3 separate regions of the Homo sapiens genome follow, and all the other regions are linked to region 3. Evidence: promoter capture Hi-C in 16 types of primary human blood cells and fetal thymus (Javierre and others, 2016). All regions are on one chromosome and are shown on one strand. Each heading gives the region's core, a stretch centred on a gene start or on the middle of the fragment in contact. The rest is flanking DNA. Distances are from core to core; before and after follow the strand shown. Region 1 overlaps LINC01498 (long intergenic non-protein coding RNA 1498). Region 2 has its middle 73 kb from the start of CMKLR1. Region 3 holds the start of CMKLR1 (chemerin chemokine-like receptor 1).

Region 1 (2,700 bases), core at 86-2,585, 120 kb after region 3:
CTGGTCCTCAATCCTCAACTCCAGCAAGCAAATGCTTGGATGAGAATGCACACCCTGTCTCCCAAGAGCAAACAAGTGCGTTCAGGCCTGGGGCAGCCAAACTCTAAGTTTAGAAACAGATTTTGCTCCAACCCTGCAGGGGCATGTTCTACCAACAAACACAGTTTGCTTTAGGTTCCCTTTAGAATACTTAACTGCTCCATCTGCAGCTTCAGTATTTGAGCTTTCAGGGCATCCCCAAGAACCGTGGATAGTTATTTTGCTTATTTTCTTCTCACCAAGTGCTCACACCCAGAATCAAGGGATGGTCCTGCTCAAAGGTAAACTCCAGTCCCCTTCCCAGAAAACAGAAAATACATGTAACATTTTAAATGAGGGTTTTACAAGCTTTGGGGGAAAAACGTAGAAGCAGATTCTACTCCAGGAACCCTACTAAATATGCATTTATAATTTTGCATTCATTTAACAATATTTACCAAGCATCTGCTACATGCCAGACCTTCTTCAAGGTGCTGAGGACACAAGGGTAGGTAAAGCAAGCCAGGACACTGCAGACAGTCCCCAGCTTATGATGCTTTGATTTTTTCATTTTATGATGGTGAGAAAGCAATAGGCATTCAGTACATTCCTTGATTCACAATGGGGTCACATCCATATTGTAAATTGAGGAGCATCTGTATAGGGATTAGATTCTAGTGTGCATACGCATAGAAAAAAAGGCAAGAGAATATTTTTAAAGTGATAATGGTTATCCCTGAGGATGGCAATAATAGAGATCTTAATTGTTTTTTATGTTTTGCGTTGTTTGAAATTTTTCCAACTGGAAAAAAACTCACAGTATAGATGAATATTTATAGTTATGGGACTATACTCACAAGATATTGCTAAGTGAAAAGAACTGGCTACAGAAGAATATACAAAGTATATTTTTTGTAAATATATATTTACACTGTGTGTGTATCTGTTGCGATGAGTCATCTTGACTAAAGGGATTATGGAGGAATGTGCTGTTCAATTTTCTGTGTCTTTCTGCGTTTTGCAAGTGGTATGAATTGAACACTTATCGCTTTTATAAAAAGGGGGAAAATGGGTCGGGCATGGTGGCTCACACCTGTAATCCCAGCACTCTGGGGGGCCAAACTGGGGAGATCGCTTGAGCCCAGAAGTTCAAGACCAGCCTGGGCAACATGGTGAGACCCTGTCTCTACAAAAAAATACAAAAAAAAAAAAAAATAGCCAGGCATGATGGTGCACATCTGTGGTCCCAGCTACCTGGGAGGCTGAGGTGGGAGGATGACCTGAGCCCGGGAGGTCAAGCCTACAGTAAACCCTGATCATACCACTGCACTCCAGCCTGGGTGACAGAGTGAGACTCTGTCTCCAAAAAAAAAAAAGTCGGGGGAGTGGAGGGTGGGGAATGTCATTTAGCAACAGGAACTTCAACCTATTCCTAAATTATTCTATCCCTAAATTATTCTATCCCTTGGTCTACCAAAATACCTGAAAATTCTCCGTTAGAGTCAGTCATTTGGCTAAACGTTTCCTTCCCAGAGGCTCCTGCTACACTACTTAAGAGGAATAACACACTGGTCTCTGTCACTTGCAAAATGGAAACGTGAACAGGGAATCTGAAAATGAACTGTCACTTTGGAAAGCGAGGAGTCTGCCTGGCTCAGCAAGACACGGACAGACAGGGAAGGGCATGGGGAGTCCCAGTGGCGCATAAGGACTCTCTGCTCTGAAAGTGAGGAGGAGGAGACTGAAGAAAAATCAGATGAGACATGGGATAAGAAGGACCTCCATGCATGCCCCTCTCCCAACACCCAGCACCCACTCTGCAGCCAAGGGGTCAGAGCTGTCGAAGAGTGATGAGCAACCTGTTTACTAAAAAGAAAGAAAAACCTACTTATAAGAGGTTTTTATCTTAGTGAGCCGCTCTGCCTGAGTCTACAGAAATTATCAAGGGTGACATCACTCTCCCCAGTCACAACCCCAGGACTTAACATCCCAGCAACACCCAAAGGACTCACCCACCCACCTCCCTGTCATTGCAGCAGCAGAACTGTCAACCCTAAAAATGAGGATGGTTACGTGAGGAAATATGACTATCACTCCTCTCCAAGCTGTCAGCTAGAATATGAGCCTGGACCTAGACTAGTTGCAGCAGGGACCATGTTTAACAAGGGGCACGGTTGACTGCTGGGACTGCTTTAATATTCAATCCAGACCTCTGATGATGAGTTATTCATTAATGACCAACTGCCTCAAGGCTCCTGTTTTATTGAAAGCTTTACAAACCATCCAAGAAATGAGATATTGAGCTAAACATTTCATTCTTCCTCATTTCATCATTCATCCAACATTTTTTGCAAATACTTACCAGGGGCTAGGGACTGGGGGGTCCAGGTATAAGATTCTTTTGGGCTTGAACATATCTGAGGACACCTTGAATTTTTATAAAAATGTGTATTAGATTTTCTTAATTATGGAAGTAACGCATGCATTGCAATATGCTAAACAACAAAGTAAAGTAAAAAATCAATAATCTCTCCCACTCCATTCTAACTCCAACCCCTTGTAGTTAGCAATGTTAATAGATTGTTGTAGAGTTCCCTTCTCTATGCTTTTTTAAAAAAATGTTCATCTATTTATTTATTTTGAGACTTGATTATGAAACTGGTTAATTTTTGTATTTTTTGT
Region 2 (2,700 bases), core at 141-2,640, 73 kb before region 3:
CTTTCATTCTGTTGAGTAAATACCTATGAGTGAAATTGCTGGGTCAAAAATTAAGTGTAGGTTTAACTTTATTTTTTTTAAAAAAGAAACTGTTTCCCAAAGAGGCTGTACCATTTTGCATTCCCACCAGCTATGTATGAAAGTTCAGTTGCTTCACATTCTCACCAACACTTGTTATTGTCGGTTGGTTTTTTGTTTGTTTTGTTTTGTTTTGTTTCTTAGAGTCTCACTCTGTTGCCCAGACTGGAGTGCAGTGGTGTAGTCATAGCTCACTGCAGCCTTGAACTCCTGAACTCAAGTGATCCTCCCATCTCAGCCTCCCAAGTAGCTGAGACTATAAGGTTTATGCCACCATACTTGGCTAATTTTTTATTTTTACTTTTTGTGTAGAGACAGGGTCTTGCTATATTGCCTAGGCTAGTCTTGAACTCCTGGCCTCAAGTGATTCTCCCACCTAGTAGCTAGGATTACTGGCATGAGCTACCATGCCTAGCCATGGAATTGTCAGTCTTTCTACTTTCAGATATTCTAGTGGGTTTGAGTGACATTTCATTGTGGTTTGTATTTGCATCTCTCTGATAAGGAATGATACAGCACATCTTTACACATGTTTACTTACTATCTCTATATTTTCTTTAGTGCAGTGTCTGTTCAAATATTCTGCCTGTTTTTTAATTTGGTTGTTTGTCTTATTAATGAGTTGTAAGCATTATTTACATATTCTGATAACAAGCTTTACTGAATATACATATTTACATCAAGTCGATGGCTTCCCTTTTTATTTTCTTAACAGTATTTTTTGAAGGGCAAAAAATGTTCATTTTAACAAAGTTCAACTTCTCAATTTTTCTGTTTTAATTTGTGCTTTTTCTGGTCTATTTAAGAGATCTTTGTTTAAATTTCACATGCTCTTGTGAACCCAGGCATATCAAGGTCTCCTAATTGCCAGTGGCTTCCAAAGAACATTACTGTCCATTTCTCCCATCCTCTCCCATTCTCTCAATTCCCTTCTCCTTGGCATGGATTCATGCTTTGTATTTTCTGTCTCTCTACCCTACCTCATTCTTACCATCAAAACACATCTACCCTCTGCCTCATTCCCTCTCCCAGTTGGTGGACAGCTTGCTAATCTGTTTTAAACAGGGATAACTATTCATGTGCCTCTATTCTTAGTAACTTAGTTACCTTTCCAAGGAGACCTGCAGGTGGTAGCTCCTTACCCCAAGAGAACAGTGTTCATGAAAACATTTTTTCTCAGTCATTACAGCAGATTGCTGGGAACCATTTGGTTCTTCTCCTGATGCTAAAAGTACACCACACCGGTGGATGCCTCTGGGTGAGGCCAGAGGCTGTACTTGGGAATTGGCAGCAAATCAGTAGAAGGTGTATTGTTGACAAATTGGATTAAAGCTAGTAGCTTGTTGATTTCAGCTAATGGCTGTTGCTCCCTATGGCACTGGTTGTGTCTCTCAACTTGATTTCATAATGTGAGTGTTGTTTCTAACTCATTGGATGTGCTAGGAACACCTGACCACATTGCCTTTATTGTCGAACAACTTATAGTTTCCAAAACTGTTTTAGGTTCATACCTTTTTTGATTATTTCAAACATACTCAGAAGAGGTATTCTTGTTTTCATTCTGTACATGAGGAAAGTGAAAACAAGTGTGGGTTAAATAACTTGCCTGAGGTTGGACAGACAGACCTTGGTAATGCACCACTGACCTTTCTGTCTGCTCCTGATAATGATGTCCCTGAAAGCCAAAATTTATGGTGCATTTACTTTTTGCAGGCACTGTTTTAAGTGTTGTCCATGCTTTATCTTATTTGTATTGGCCAGCTATTGTCTTGATAACTCTGCATTGCAAACCATCCTAGGTCGGTGATTCAAAACAGCAATCATTTATTTTGCAGGTTTAAGTGTGTGCTACAACATGGCAGGGCCAGGCTGGACTTCAGGTCTTATGCTGCAGACTAAAGGTTGAGCTCCAATTTTTCCATGTAGGTTGGTTCTGGGGTTCAAGCTGAAGAAGCAGTTACTACCTGGGGGAAGCTTTGCTCATGACAATGACAAAAGCACAGGAGAGAATTTCTAAGCACATTTGTAGCCTCTGCTTGTAACACATCTGCTAATATCCCATTAGCTAAACAAGTCACATGGCAAACCCAAAATCAAGGAATGGGGAAATATACCCTGACTCCAGCAGAATGAACTGCCATGTCATATGGCATGAAAACAAGTAGGGATGAAGAATTAGAGCCAGTAATTCAACCTACCATGCCACTTAATCCCAACAACTCTAGGAGTTAGACACTTTTATTTTTCTTATTTTACTGAAGAGGAAACAGAGGCTGTGTCAAGAAGGTAGTAGTGAGAGGGGGTGGAGTGACACTGAGACGTGCTAACCCCAGACTCCAGCTCTTAACCACTTATCCATTTCCCGATGAAACAGTGCTCTACAGAGAGGAAAATTAAGCAACAGATTTGTCCTCCATGGGCTGTGTGATAGACATACCGTGTCTACTGTGTCAAGGGCTTTATCCGTGGTCCTGAAATACCCTTTATGCCTAGGCACCATTGTTTCCTTTGGGATGCTTATAATTTCAATCTATCCCTTCTGGAGATTCTAATTCAGGTGAAGAAAGAGAAAGACATGAACAAAAGTAAGACACATAAATGCATACAGGCTGATGGTTTTCT
Region 3 (2,700 bases), core at 129-2,628:
ACCACAGAGAAGATTGGTCTTGAGAAGGAGGTAGGGGATGCAAAAGGGAAGTTGAGGGCTTTCCCTAATAGAAAAAGAAAGACTCAGAACCTGGACGTTCAGGCGTGTGACCTCAGACCAGTGATCTGGCATCTCTGAACCGCACAGGTCTGAGTGATTGGGCTTATATCAAGTAGTAGTTCCCTGATGTTGTAATGCTTATAATTTTGCCAAAGCTGGCTTGCCCATTTAAAATGGGCTATTCTGAAGACAGAGGAGGGAGTGGAATATTTTCAACAGAGAGTGCCGGCAAAGGTTTTGTGTCCTTTATATACAAAGAACCCTTAGATATCAATTGGAAAAAGATAAACATGCCCCCAGAGGAGAAAAAAATGGGAACAGACTTGAACAGGAGAGTCAGACTAGAAATGTGAAAAATAAGTTTATAAAAGAGAATCAACACTAACAAAGAAATGAAATGCCTATTGAAGCATCTAGATATTATTCTCGACTTCACATCAGGGAAAGTTTAAGGGATGGGTAGCAACAAGGTGGGTTTAGTATGTGAGAATACTGTGCCCTGGTATAACATCGTAGAGAGGTCAAGCTGCCACGGCCTTCCAGGGTGCAGTGTGACCAAAAGCTCAGAAGTCTTAAAAATAGGCAAACCTTAAATCTAGCAATTTCTAAAAGGTATTCATAAGACACACACACAAAGATGTCATACTAAATATTCATTGCAGCACTGTTCTAATAAAAAAAAAGAAGCAAATCTATTATGGAAAAGTCAAATAATCTTAAGATAGCCTTTCTATGCAGCCATGAAAAATGTATATTGGAAGAATATAGGTGATATGGAAAAAAGTTCACAATCTGTGGTTAAGCAGGTTACCAAACTAGATGTGGAAATCCACATTCATATATTTAGTTGTGTATCCTTGCTATTTCTTTAAACAATGAACATGCATTACTTTTGACATCTGAAAATAATAACAAAACTCTTCCTTTTAACAAATATGAAATTATAAAAAGAAACAAACTTTTCTCTCTGTTAGTATTCATTCCCCTTCCCTGGCCCCCCTCAGAAGACACCCAAGGCAAGTGTGTGATGATACCTTCCCTCTGGTCTCTGCCCGGAAGGTCTTCCTGAGGGTTCCCTGTGACTGCAGGCCACTCGAGGCTGTTGGGGAGACTTGCACACCCTGGCTTCTTTCTGCCAATCACAGGCTCCTCTGGCTGTGGCTGTTTGCCCAGAAAGCAGTTCATTCATTTGTTCATTCAAGATCCCCCTCTGAACCCCCAGAGCGCCGCAGCTGGAACACCCCTATCACCCGGAGGCTTCCCAGGGAGCCTGCTCTGTCCTGAGCTCCCTGCTGGCCGCCGGGGCTGCTTCCCTGAATGGGACTGGGACAGAACTCAGCCAGAGAAACAGCTGGAGGGAGGAGAGCAGGAGGGAGGGGCAGGAAACTGGGCTGACCTAGGGCGGGGGCGGCTAGCTGCGTGGAGAGGGGGCTGCGAGGGGAGGGTGCCCCTACCAGCCGGGGACTGGGCTTGTGGGTGGCGGCGGGGGCCCGCTGGGGACGACCCGCCCCTCTGGCAGCCTCTTGCAGCCGGGGAGCCGTGCCCACTGAGCGCAAACAGGGAGCACATCTGAGCACCCGGCTGCTGGGGGAAGTGCAAGCGCCTCTGCTCCCGGTGAGGGGCTCAAGCTCCACACTGACCGAGAGATTGGCTGCCTCTCACCCTGGGCCTTTGCAACGCTGTTCCTCCCACCTGGATGCTATTCCTGCCCTAATTCGTGGCCCGATGGTCTCCTACTGCCTCTTCAGGTCTCAGGTTGAAGGTCACCTCCCAGGGAAGCCTTCCCCAACCCTCGGGGGCTGCTGTGCCCCTCAGGGTCACCCCATCACCTCACTGATGCAGTGCTGTCCTTGCCTGTTAAGATGTCTCTCTCCTTGCACCGAGAACTCCTTGCACCAGGAACTCTGTAGGGAAAGAACTGTATTCTGTTCCCTGCCCTAACCAGGCGCTAAGTGCCTGGTTCATCGGCTGTGTGGTCACCATCATTAGTGGAATAATCAAAACAACCGACAGCCAGGCAGCGTGCTAGGCGATGCGTACTTACTCTTCACGGCAACCCTAGATAACAGGAATTATTACTACTCCAGTCTTACCAATAAGGAAACTGGGGTACAGAGAGATTAAGTCACTTGCTCAAGACCACACCGCCAGCAGCTGACAGAGCTGGGATTCCAACTATGTTGTCTGGCTCGGAGGCCCACCCTTGGCCTCCAGACTGAAGAAATAACAGAAGTGCCCATGTGGGCCCCTGTGCCAAGTGCTTCCATGGAGTAAGCCGTGTGAACCACCACCCACGTCGGGGGGGCATCACTTGCCCATTCTACACATGAGGATGCTAGGGCCACAGAGCAGAAGTCGTTTTGCCCAGGGCGCCAAGCTCATGCTGACCGAGCCATGGCTGGATCTGAGTCTGTCTGATTCCAAAGCCAAGACTGCCTACGACTGCCTAAAATAATATTTTTAGAAAGAAAAAGAAAAGGGAAGGGCAGGGGAGGGGAAGAGAGGGGAAGGGAGGAGAAGAAAGAAAGGAAGAAAAGGGAGGGCAGGGAGGAAGGTAATGGGGAGGAGGGGAAGGTGAAGGGAGAGGGAGATGGGGAGGGAGGGAGAGAAGGAGAGAAACCTGTGTTTTGGGCCTCAAAG

Evidence for each region. The method cuts DNA at HindIII sites, captures the fragments that hold promoters and counts their contacts. A CHiCAGO score of 5 or more calls a contact.
Region 1: a fragment that was not itself captured here is called in contact with the fragment with the promoter of CMKLR1 in region 3 in 3 of 17 cell types (M0 macrophages, M1 macrophages and M2 macrophages); the score reaches 6.1 in M0 macrophages.
Region 2: a contact is called between a fragment that was not itself captured here and the fragment with the promoter of CMKLR1 in region 3, in 1 of 17 cell types (monocytes). The highest score is 6.1, in monocytes.

The regions. Positions count from the first base shown.
Region 1 is chr12:108,459,250-108,461,949 of GRCh38, forward strand. It overlaps LINC01498 (long intergenic non-protein coding RNA 1498), which reads right to left. Exons shown (of 4, transcript NR_120483.1): 3 at 2,381-2,445; 4 at 176-335. Among named protein-coding and RNA genes, the nearest start is that of LINC01498, 13 kb to the right of the region's middle. The HindIII fragment of the contact is 1,901 bases long and covers 386-2,286 here.
Region 2 is chr12:108,265,121-108,267,820 of GRCh38, forward strand. No RefSeq gene overlaps it. Among named protein-coding and RNA genes, the nearest start is that of CMKLR1, 73 kb to the right of the region's middle. The HindIII fragment of the contact is 1,319 bases long and covers 732-2,050 here.
Region 3 is chr12:108,337,933-108,340,632 of GRCh38, forward strand. It overlaps CMKLR1 (chemerin chemokine-like receptor 1), which reads right to left and starts at 1,379. Exons shown (of 4, transcript NM_001142343.2): 1 at 1,095-1,379. RefSeq lists an enhancer at 812-1,435 and a silencer at 1,543-1,662. The HindIII fragment of the contact is 6,306 bases long and covers 1-2,700 here.